3 separate regions of the Homo sapiens genome follow, and all the other regions are linked to region 1. Evidence: promoter capture Hi-C in 16 types of primary human blood cells and fetal thymus (Javierre and others, 2016). All regions are on one chromosome and are shown on one strand. The core of a region is centred on a gene start or on the middle of the fragment in contact, and the rest is flanking DNA. Distances in the headings are between cores, read along the strand shown. Region 1 holds the start of IFTAP (intraflagellar transport associated protein). Region 2 overlaps DCDC1 (doublecortin domain containing 1). Region 3 holds the start of API5 (apoptosis inhibitor 5).

The links. The method cuts DNA at HindIII sites, captures the fragments that hold promoters and counts their contacts. A CHiCAGO score of 5 or more calls a contact.
Region 2: a contact is called between a fragment that was not itself captured here and the fragment with the promoter of IFTAP in region 1, in 1 of 17 cell types (monocytes). The highest score is 5.8, in monocytes.
Region 3: a contact is called between the fragment with the promoter of API5 here and the fragment with the promoter of IFTAP in region 1, in 1 of 17 cell types (erythroblasts). The highest score is 5.3, in erythroblasts.

The regions. Positions count from the first base shown.
Region 1 is chr11:36,593,252-36,597,337 of GRCh38, reverse strand. IFTAP (intraflagellar transport associated protein) reads right to left here and starts at 2,836. Exons shown (of 6, transcript NM_138787.4): 1 at 2,746-2,836. RAG2 (recombination activating 2) reads left to right here. Exons shown (of 2, transcript NM_000536.4): 2 at 3,143-4,086. The coding sequence starts at 3,170. RefSeq lists an enhancer at 2,790-2,929. The HindIII fragment of the contact is 5,310 bases long and covers 1,974-4,086 here.
Region 2 is chr11:31,363,367-31,367,133 of GRCh38, reverse strand. All of the region lies in intron 1 of DCDC1 (doublecortin domain containing 1), which reads left to right. Among named protein-coding and RNA genes, the nearest start is that of DCDC1, 4.5 kb to the left of the region's middle. The HindIII fragment of the contact is 1,293 bases long and covers 730-2,022 here.
Region 3 is chr11:43,310,187-43,314,074 of GRCh38, reverse strand. It overlaps API5 (apoptosis inhibitor 5), which reads right to left and starts at 2,079. Exons shown (of 14, transcript NM_001142930.2): 1 at 1,879-2,079. The coding sequence starts at 1,947. RefSeq lists an enhancer at 1,551-2,326. The HindIII fragment of the contact is 11,672 bases long and covers 1-2,254 here.

The DNA.
Region 1 (4,086 bases), core at 1,587-4,086:
ATTTTAGATATAGTATAATCATTTAAAAACTCTTTTTAAAAACCAAGGTGTGACTAATACAGTCATATTGAAACTATGGAAGAGATACAATGGTCTACTCCAGTGAAAAATATATTCAAGTTGATAAAGCAAAATTTCAAAAACCAAATGTGGCAAAATCATGTGAAAACACTTTCAATGTTCCTGTTTATTCTTTAAATGCATACATCATCTGGTTAAAGTGAGTAATCTAAAAATTAATTACTCACACTTGAACCATGTTACAAGAGGAGGTAATTCATCTTAGCAATAAGAAACTTTACCACTGTTTTTAGGGCCTTGAAATTATGAAATGAGCCAAAAGCAGAGCATCAAAGGGAAAACAGGTCAAAAGCCCTGTTTCAAAAATCTTTAGGGGCCTAGACTAAGCTACAAAAATGGACAATCCTCCTTATGTCTTGCCCAAGAAAATGTTTCTGTGTAATCTACAATAATCATGTTTTCACTTACGAGAAGCCACAATTCCTACAGCAACCTTAAAATGAAACCAAGAGGCGACAATAAAAACATTGCTTTAAAACAACTGTTCTTGAAAAATCCCTTTGGATCTGGAATCCATTACCACTGTATGGCTTGCCTTGTATCTCAATAACAGTCATCACAGGTGTTTGAAACAAGCAGGCCTTGGCTTTGGTGTTCCCCCCACCCAAAATGGGACAACTCTCTGATCATAATCACTCAGGCTGAGTGTAATCACCTACAGTTTTCTGAAGTGAGGGTCAATAATGTCTCCTTTTAGTTTCTATGAATAGCATTTTTCATAGTTGCTCAGATGCCTTCCCTCATGTAGGCTTGGGTAGGCCATGATATAAATAAAACACTGCCTAGATTATTTTATAAGCAGGGCAGTTTGCTGAATATACAACTGAGGGAGACAGGCTTGTTTTCATAACTTTGATAATAATCCTTCTGAGACACCATTTCCTCACCTGCTTTAATAACCCACCAGATAATTGTTGAAAGATCACCCCCTTACGAGTCTCCCAAGTAGACTGAAAATAATAACTACAAGAGATTATTTAGCAGTAAATTACAGCTGATCTACAGAAGTTCTTTAAAGCAAAAAAAAAAAAAAACAAAAAAAAAACACTACCATCTCATTAGAGTGACCAGAGATTCTAAATAGTCCAAGGAATCTTTGCAGGAGGAATAAAGATAAATTAGATAAATTATAGTATCAATTAACATTTATTGAGTGTTTATGTGCCAGGCACTGTTCTATGTGATTTACACGTGCTATCCCATTTATTTCTCAAAACAGCCCAGTGAATATATACCAAGATTATCCCCAGTTAGACAAAGGGTGACAAGAAGAATAAAATATTAACTATCTTCTGTTAATAAATTAACTACTACCAGCACCCTCATCATATATGTTTATCCAATTCTTTTAGTTCAAATGTTTATCTGTCTATACCCACTGACCTGATTCCCATATCCTAAAGCCCCTTCTCATCCTCTCCAACCTTATCAACTGCCATTACTGGCAGGTGCGTATGCACTAGACCTTATTTTTGGTAAATTTTAAAATAATCATAACTATCGTCTACTATATGCAAATCCCTGTTCTAAGTACTTTACGTATATTCAACTATTAATCATAACTGACATCAATATATGAGGTTGGTAAAATTATTATCTCAGTTTTCAGATGAGGAAACTGAGGCACACAGAGGTTACATAACTTGCCCAAAGTCATGTAGTTAGTGGCAGAGCCAGGATTTGAATCCAGCCAGTAAGCATTCAGAGTCCACACTCAGCCATTGTTTATACTGCTTTTGAAGCATATTAAGAATTAACTCTTAAAAGTCAAGAAATCTGTGCTATGTTTTGTTTCCTTTAACATTTGGTGCACAGGACATCACACTGCAAACACGGAGTGTATTCCACAACTCTCTAAGGTAAACAATAATAAAATAGAAATTTATCAAGCTTCCTTCATCTAGTAAATATTCTTTTTGTTGTAACACAAGTATGAAATTCTGAATAATTCAAACACTTCTATGCTTAGTCCCTGCTTACTTACTACAGAATTATTAAAGAATTACCCAAAAGTTCTTGGACTGGAAAGATGTGAAAAAGCCACTAACTCTATTTTCCTAGAATGAAGATGAAAAGAAGATGTGTTTAGGAACCTTCTCTGCTTCCCTAAAAGAACCCTAAAAACAGGAGTAAAAACAGTGAAGAAAACAAAGGACCTTCAAAGTGCACTCGTTAAAACCTAATAACTGTATTTCTATTACTAAATGTAGAAGTGGTAAACATCTTTAACAGGCAATGTCTCCCCTGCACTCTAGGGATTCAAAGATCCATCTTTCGGTTCTGTAAGACAGTCACGGCTTTTGTAACCTCGGTGCCCCCTTCAACCTCCCGCCCCAAGCACCTCCAGGGTCGTCAGGGGTGTAGTTTTGAGTCGCGCTCCTAAGCATCCAGACAGGCAGGACACCGTAACGACATCTCTGCCGGGAGTCCCTTCAGACTGCGGTCTCCAGGTAACCGCACTCCAACAGAAGCAGTTGTGCTTCCTATCGGGTCACCTGTTCAAAAGTCCCCAGGAGAGGCTCCAGCAATACCAGGGTAGCGGTTTGCCCGACACCGCTCCGGGCGCTGCAGCCTTCCGGCAACCCGGACGTTGGGTCGGTGTCAGCCACTCTCACCTCCCATTCCCTAGTTTTCCTCCTTTGCTCCCGTCTAGTCACTTCGCACCTTCGGCTAGTCTTTATTCACAGACACATTCCAGGAGTCCCCTCTCCCAGAGCAACAAAGACAGATTTCCAAAGCTACACATCCCAGAGAGAACGGATTCTTGGGAAATGTGGTTCTTTCAGCTGACGCATGGTGACTCTTTACGGAAAAGGACTACAATTCCCAGAAATCCTAGGGAGCATATAGTCCGTGGCTAAAACATGTCCCAGCTCCTTGGATGGAATGGCAGTAAAGGTTCTGTGGCTCTTTACTGACCTAACTCCTTGGATTTTCCTCATTCAGTCCCACTGCAAGCGTGTGGGAGGACTTAAAAAAATGCTATTCACATGTGAAGGAATCTAAATACGATGATTATATGAAGCGATCTCTAAGTCATTTTATTTTATAATTCTTTCAGACAAAAATCTACGTACCATCAGAAACTATGTCTCTGCAGATGGTAACAGTCAGTAATAACATAGCCTTAATTCAGCCAGGCTTCTCACTGATGAATTTTGATGGACAAGTTTTCTTCTTTGGACAAAAAGGCTGGCCCAAAAGATCCTGCCCCACTGGAGTTTTCCATCTGGATGTAAAGCATAACCATGTCAAACTGAAGCCTACAATTTTCTCTAAGGATTCCTGCTACCTCCCTCCTCTTCGCTACCCAGCCACTTGCACATTCAAAGGCAGCTTGGAGTCTGAAAAGCATCAATACATCATCCATGGAGGGAAAACACCAAACAATGAGGTTTCAGATAAGATTTATGTCATGTCTATTGTTTGCAAGAACAACAAAAAGGTTACTTTTCGCTGCACAGAGAAAGACTTGGTAGGAGATGTTCCTGAAGCCAGATATGGTCATTCCATTAATGTGGTGTACAGCCGAGGGAAAAGTATGGGTGTTCTCTTTGGAGGACGCTCATACATGCCTTCTACCCACAGAACCACAGAAAAATGGAATAGTGTAGCTGACTGCCTGCCCTGTGTTTTCCTGGTGGATTTTGAATTTGGGTGTGCTACATCATACATTCTTCCAGAACTTCAGGATGGGCTATCTTTTCATGTCTCTATTGCCAAAAATGACACCATCTATATTTTAGGAGGACATTCACTTGCCAATAATATCCGGCCTGCCAACCTGTACAGAATAAGGGTTGATCTTCCCCTGGGTAGCCCAGCTGTGAATTGCACAGTCTTGCCAGGAGGAATCTCTGTCTCCAGTGCAATCCTGACTCAAACTAACAATGATGAATTTGTTATTGTTGGTGGCTATCAGCTTGAAAATCAAAAAAGAATGATCTGCAACATCATCTCTTTAGAGGACAACAAGATAGAAATTCGTGAGATGGAGACCCCAGA
Region 2 (3,767 bases), core at 127-2,626, 5.2 Mb after region 1:
TGTAGAGATGGAGTTTCACCATGTTGGCCAGGCTGGTCTGGAACTCTTGAGCTCAAGCAATCTGCCTGCCTCAGCCTCCCAAAGTGCTGAGATTACAGGCATGCGCCACTGCGCCCAGCCACATTTTGTTGATCTTTATCTCAGTTCCTTCCTCAAGAAAGGATGCCCAGACCTCTCAACAAGTATCAAAGAGCTGAAACTCACCAGATTACTGCATCTAGACAGTGATATGCCAGACCCCTCATTCTTCGTTATTGTTTCCTTACCCTTCCTTAGTTCCTGTTTTCTCATACGTAGTTAACATTTCTTCCCTGTTATATAAACCCCTAATTTTAGTCAGTGAGGAAGGTGAATTTGACACTGATGTCCCATCTCCTTGGCTGCAGCATCTGATTAAAGCCTTCTTCTTTGACAATAATCATTGTCTCAGTGATTGACTTTTTGGGTGGTAAGCAGCAAGACATAGATGGAACTCCTGGTGTTTTGGTAACAGCATTTCATCAATAATTGTGTTCAAATGCTTCTCCTTACTTATAACACCCTAATTCTTTTCTTCCTCCTATCAGAGTAATCCCTGCTTTAAGGCCTATCTCTTCCATCAAGCCTTTTATGATGGCCTGGTCCTTAGAACTTACTGCCGCCCCTCAACTTTCATAGCAAGTCCTTTGTATATCACAGTATATTGTTTTCCTTAGAATATATTCTGATTCCCCAGTTGGGTTGCAAGCTTTCTGAGAGCAAGAACACCTCTCCAGAGAAACTAAGAACCAGCTATCTTGCCTCATTCTCTGGAGTTCTAATGATACATAGCTCTAATAGTTTTGTTTCTCAGTATCTTATATTTAAAAGGCAATTTATCCATTTTATGTGAAACTTACATAGTGGAAATATAAACTATGTTAGTATCATGGTTAAAAGCATGAACTCTAGAGTCAGAACATATGTGTTTAGTCCAGGCTTTTCCTCTTACGGCTATGTGAACTTAATTCATCTCTTTGCTTTGGTTTCTTCCTCTGTAATATGGGAGTAATAATAGTATTTCCCTCATAGATTTGTTGTGGGAATTAAATGAGATAGTTGTGCCTGAAAGTAATAAGTATTCAGTAAAGGTTAGCTATTGTTGTTATTATTAATTAATAATATTTGTTGCACATTTGATATATTAGAATGTTGGACATTCATAACAGTATTTTAGGAATTTCCAAAGAGAGCAAATGACAGCAAGAAACAATTGAATTGGAAAAATAAAATCAAACCCAAATATTTGTTGAACTGTACATTTGGTTGGACTTCAGAATAAATTAAAAGGATAGGCAAAACTTTAGTTTGCGTCATCAGCATCTAACATAACCAAGGTAGGCGTATATTAAATATTTGATTCCCAGATGATTGATCAAGTGCTATAGATGTAGCTAGATACATCAGGAGTTTAAGATCCTTTGTCATGATGATAGGAAAAAATGACATTGTTATTAAATCTATCACTTTGGTACACGCCTGCCCGTAAACTAACGTCTACCAGACATTCACAAATTCTTAATTTGATGTCATACTAGTCAATTGTGCTTCTCATTGATGGATAATAATGGAAATCTATATCTATATTATATAGATGTATACATATAGTGTACTTCTGCTAATTATTTCCTATTCAGGATTATATTTACTTGGCTCTTTTGGTAGTTCCATCACCAACTATTCCTTCATTTCCTTGATTTTTATTTCTGAATTTTAGGATTTTTATACCAGTGAACTAAGCTGTATTTAAGTACCATGGGATATGATGGTTATGTTCCAAAATTGAATGATTGTCTCTAGAGCAACTTATAATCTACTGGGAAGATAGAAAAACCACCAAAAACTAGCTAGTTATTTGATTTTTAAAAGTCAATGATATATATACAGCCTTCATTCACCTATTGACTCAATCGACAAATATTTGTTGAGTGTCTCTTATGTACCCCACACTCCGTTAGTTACAAGAGACACAAAACAAAGTTGACTGTAGTCCTGTCAAAAGCTTAGTTTATCTGGGTAAACAGACATTTAAAAAGGAACTGAAATAACTGTAGGAAGTACTATGCCAGAGGAAATACCAGGTGCTGTGACATTAATTAATAACTTGCAGGTATACTAATACGTAGAATAGATTACTTGAATGATTAAAATCCTTGAATCAAGATGAAGCTAATCCAGGAAGATGTATGAAATGTTAAGTTTTAAATAGTGTTTTGAAGGAAGGGAGAGGTGAATGACTAGGATGAAAGAAACTTCCTTTCTTCTTTTTTTTTTTTTTGACAGATTAACATAAAGCTTTAGATAGTATTGAGAATCAGCTCTAATGAATAATCCTAGCTCATCTTTTAGAAATGGTTTTCATTTTTCCCTTTGTTGGTTGTCTTAACTCAGTCTATTATCTGCTTTGCCATTTTGACAATAGTCATCATCGATGAACTTTCGTTGAGTTTGTGCAAGGCAGTACACTAAGCAGGAGAGAAAGAGGAAGAGGTAAATATTTTTTGCGGGCACCGCACTTGTTGCTGTGTTTTTCTTGTTTTTTAGCATTATGTGTCAGTTCTTTCTAACTTTTTTCAGACCTCTTATAGGTCTTTATCTTATCTGAGATTTATGTTCCTGTTTTCCTATCTTCACATCTAATGTTTTAATCATTCCATGAGCCTATTAAAAATATTGTCTGTAATCCATCTTCTATTTATCTTTAATAGTCATACAAATACCAACTTGTTTTTTCCCCCATTCACTTGTTTGCCCTTTTCTCTTTTTTCTTATCACCACTCTGGTTTTTCTATGCACTTTCCAACTACACTGAAATTTGTGGTGATCTCTTCCAGTCATGTGGGGATATGCATTTATATACAGAAGCTCCTTGACATGTGATGGGATTATCTCTGATAAGCCCATTTTAAGTTGAAAATATTATTAGTGCCTTAATACATCTAGCCTACTGCACATCATAGCTTAACATAGCCTACTTTAATTGTGCTCAGAACACTTTCTTTAGCCTACAGTTGGGCAAAATCATGTAGCACACACTACACCATAGAGTATTGGTTGTTTACCCTCAGAGAGTGCATGGTTCACTGGCAGCTGCTGCTCCCTGCCACTGCCCAGCATCATGAGAAATTATTTTACTAACTATCACTAGCCTGGGAAGAGATCAAAATTCAAAGTATGGCTTCTTCTGAATATGTATTCAGTAGAATACACACCATGTAAAGTCAAAAAATTGTTAATCAAACCATCCTAAGTCAGGTACTGGCTGTACTGTTTTTTAAAGCATGCTACTTTCTCTATTTTAGTTTTTTAATCCTGAATTTTTTTCGAAAAGTTTATTTTTGTCATGTAATTGACTTACAGAAGAAAGGTTAATCTGAATGATCAAGGGGTGTTAATTTGTGGGTTAAAATGTGTTAAACAGTTGATTTGAAGTCTGTTTAAGTCAATTAGAGAGTATAATGAAGATGTTTCCAGGGTGTTATGGAACCTTTTGAAGTTAAGTGTGGAATTCACTAGTGTATATTAACTATGGCACCTGGCTAAACATGTTATTGCATTCAGGTTTTTTAATTTGTGTGAATTCTAATAGGTATGAATGGGTCAACATACATAGAAGTTTGACTTTATTAATGAGCCTCATCTTTTGTAATAGGAAATTAAATTCATGACTTAATTCATCATTAGCAATGGAAAACATAATTAGTATCATTGTTATCTTTGTTACTTGCATATTTTTCTAAAATATAAGG
Region 3 (3,888 bases), core at 830-3,329, 6.7 Mb before region 1:
CTCTGTTGCCCAGGCTGGAGTGCAGTGGCCCGATATCAGCTCACAGGAACCTCCACCCTCCGGGTTCAAGCAATTGTCCTGCCTCAGCCTCCCAAATAGCTGGGACTTCAGGCGCATGCCACCACGCCTGGCTAATTTTTGTATTTTTAGTAGAGATGGGGGTTCACCATGTTGGCCAGGCTGGTCTCGAACTCCTGATCTCAACTGATCTGCCCATCCACGCCCCTTAAAGAATTGGGATTACAGGCGTGAGCCACCGTGCCTGGCAGTTTTTACCTTCTTAATGAACAGAATATTCCTCCTTCACAACCGACCTACACACTCTATCCACATGTACAGCAGAACATCCGTATACATTTCTTACTGATAAAAGTGAAATTCCCTACTGACAGGGAATGAAGGAAAAAAAATCATTTGCTATTTCAAACTGGTATATTCTTAATTCTAGATTAAGCTACAATAAATCTCCAACATGAAATTTTTTTTTTTTCGTTCAGCTCAGAAAAGTCCTATTTGAATTATGTTAAGAAAAGGGGACGGGAAAGGTACTCCCACGACTGTTAATAGACTAGAATCTTCCACTTTCTCCAAGAAGGGATGCGTAAGCAGAAAAATCACAAAGTTCTAAGCGCTGAAAAGCTATGGTGTGGGATTTCTAAAACAATGATCAAGGTTACCTCCAGGAGAGCCTGGTTCTTTTCCCAAGAACACACATACCCAACCACTTATCAAGTTCAATGTACTCCAGTACTTGAAAACTCATACAGGGAACAAATGACTTGTATGGATAATTCAACACTGCTGAGAAACTGTGTATCGGGGGCAAGCATCGTTAAGAGAGCTCTTCCAGACAACTCCATTCAGAGCTGCGCACTCACACTCTCCTTCGCCCAGCCCTGTTTTATTTTCTTCAAACATGTTTCATTAAAAAGAATAAATTTTTAAAAAAAACCTTTTTTTTTTTTTTTGAGACGGGGTCTTGCTTTGTCTCCCAGGCTGGAGTGCAGTGAAGCGATCTCGGCTCACCGCAACCTCTGCCTCCCGGGTTCAAGCAATCCTCCCACCTCAGCCTCCTGAGTAGCTAGGATTACAAGCGCGTGTCACCACGCCCGGCTAATTTTTGTATTTTTAGTAGAGACAGGGTTTCACCATGTGGGTCAGGCTGGTCTCGAACTCCTGACCTCGTGATCCGCCCGCCTCGGCCTCCCAAAGTGCTCGGATTACAGGCGTGAGCCACCAAGCCGGGCCTCACAATGCCTATCTTTCTTACTACACTCCCTCCTAACTGTACATTCTGGGAGAGCGCGGACCTTTCCATCTGTATCTCCAGCGCTCGGCACTCAAAAAAATGCACTGAATAAATGAAACCGTGAGCTCTCATCAAAGTCTGGACCAAAGAGTCCCTCTTCTGTTTCTCACAAACTTCTGTCTCCTAAACACTCTTCTTCAATTAGTAGCAGAATTTTGCCTCCCCCCCAAAAAAAACACATCTTGACCTCATGAAGAAAACTCCCGATCTAATCTTGGAAGCACTGAGCTCCACCGAAAAGGAGAAAGGCTTAAGAGAATCCTGTAGAGAAAAGCTCCGTGAGAAGAATTAACGTGAGCCTGAACGGGCTGAGTTAGGTTACGCCACGGTGAGAAAAGGCTGGGCAAGGGAGGCAAGGAAGCCTGGAACCCTGGGGACCGCGGTCTCCCTGGTGAAACCAGAGTCTACACTCCCAGAGAGGCCCACCCCGACGAGACGGCCTGAGGAGGCTAGGAGGCCCCGGGAGGATGAAGCCGCAGCCCCCGCTCGGCCCGGGGAGTGCGGCGGGAAGCGCTTTCGAAAGGCCGCGGAGCGCCAGGCCCTGCAGGCCGCCCGGGGACTCAACTCACCTGGCCCACTTGCTCCGTGGCATCGGCCAGGATGCCATAATTGCGGTAAAGCTCCTCTACTGTCGGCATGGTGAGCGACAAGCCCAGGGCCCGGTTCCGCTATCCTTGTCCTGACCGGCGCCACCGCCGCCTCGGAACTTCTCCAAACCCACTACCCGCACTATTACACCTCCAGCTGCCGCCAGTGCAGCCGCCAGTCACCGCGCACAGCGCGGCTGCGCCCCCGACGTCTACGTAAAGACGCGCACGTCGGGAGCGGCCTTCAGTAGACACCCCCCACCCCAATGCGCCTCCGCGGTTTTTGTCGCCCTCTACAGCCTGGAGGAGCAAAAAAGCGGCAAGGATGATTGAATTAGCTCACGCCTTTTTGAAAGCTTGAGCTTGGCTGCAGGCTCTCCATGGAAGGGGTGTGGGTGGGCGGGGAAGTGAATACAAAGACAATTGCGTTTCTGCCCTTAGAAGATCTTACATATGAGAAGTCACAAATGGTTTCCTCCTGATTCAAGGAAGGTAATATTAATCGGTGGCACTAGAGGCTAGTGGGTCCGGTGGGAAGCAAAAAACATTCCTATGCTATTAAAAAACCCTCTGTGTCCACCACGCTCATCAAGTGCGGGGTCAAATTTGGCCTGCTGGAAGAATTTGCTTATCTTTGCTGCCAGTGTAAAGAATTGGGGCCACCTGATTATGTCCAGTATCCAAAAGAATAATAAATAAATGAAATCACGTACGCTTACTGATAAGAATTTCTAAGATACAAGTTTAAATGAAATTATATATATAATATGATATAATATATAATATTTTATATATTATATAATATATAACATTATATATTAATATATAATAATTTTATATATTATATAATATATAATATTATATATTAATATATAATATTATATATTATATAATATATAACATTATATATTAATATATAAATATATAATATATAATATAAATATAATAATATTATATTAATATATAAATATATAATATATAATATAAATATAATAATATTATATTAATATATATTAAGATAATAATATTAATTAATACATTAATTATATAATATAATTATAATATATCTATATATTGAGATATAATATTAATTAATATATCAATATTATCAATTATATATTATAATTATCTTATATTATATATAATATATTAATTATATAATTAATATATTAATATTATTATCTTAATATATATTAATATATTATTATATTTATATATCATATATAATATTATGATATTAATATTATAATATATATTATATATTATATTATATATACAATTATATATATAATATATATTATATATTGTATATTATTATATAATTATATATTAAGATAATAATATATATTAAGATAATAATATATTATATATATTAAGATAATAATATATATTATATATATTAAGATAATAATATATATTTATATATTAAGATAATTATATTTATATAATAATATTATATATATATATAGCCGTGTGCGGTGGCTAACGCCTGTAATCTCAGCACTTTGGAAGGCTGAGTTGGGTGGATCACTTGAGGTCAGGAGTTCAAGATCAGCCTGGTCAACATGGTGAAACCCTGTCTCTACTAAAAATACAAAAATTAGCCAGGCGTGGTGGCATGCACCTGTAGTCCCAGCTGCATGAGAGGCTGAGGCAGAAGAATTATATGCACATAGGAGGCAGAGGTTGCAGTGAGCCCAGATCATGCCACTGCAATCCAGCCTGGGCCACAGAGCAAAACTCTATCTCAAAAAAATTAAAAGAAAAAGAAAAAGAAAAAGAAAAAGAAAAGTTAAAAGGCAGGTATAAGATGATCCCATTATGTAAAACATACAAAGCATACAAAACAAAGTTATGTGTGTATGTGTAAAAGGATGTTAAAGGATGTTAACATTTCAGGATTGAAATATCAAACTATAATAGACTGTAAATTTCAAAGCCACATCCACTTGTACAGAACATACACGGGAAATGATTACAAAAGAACTCCCC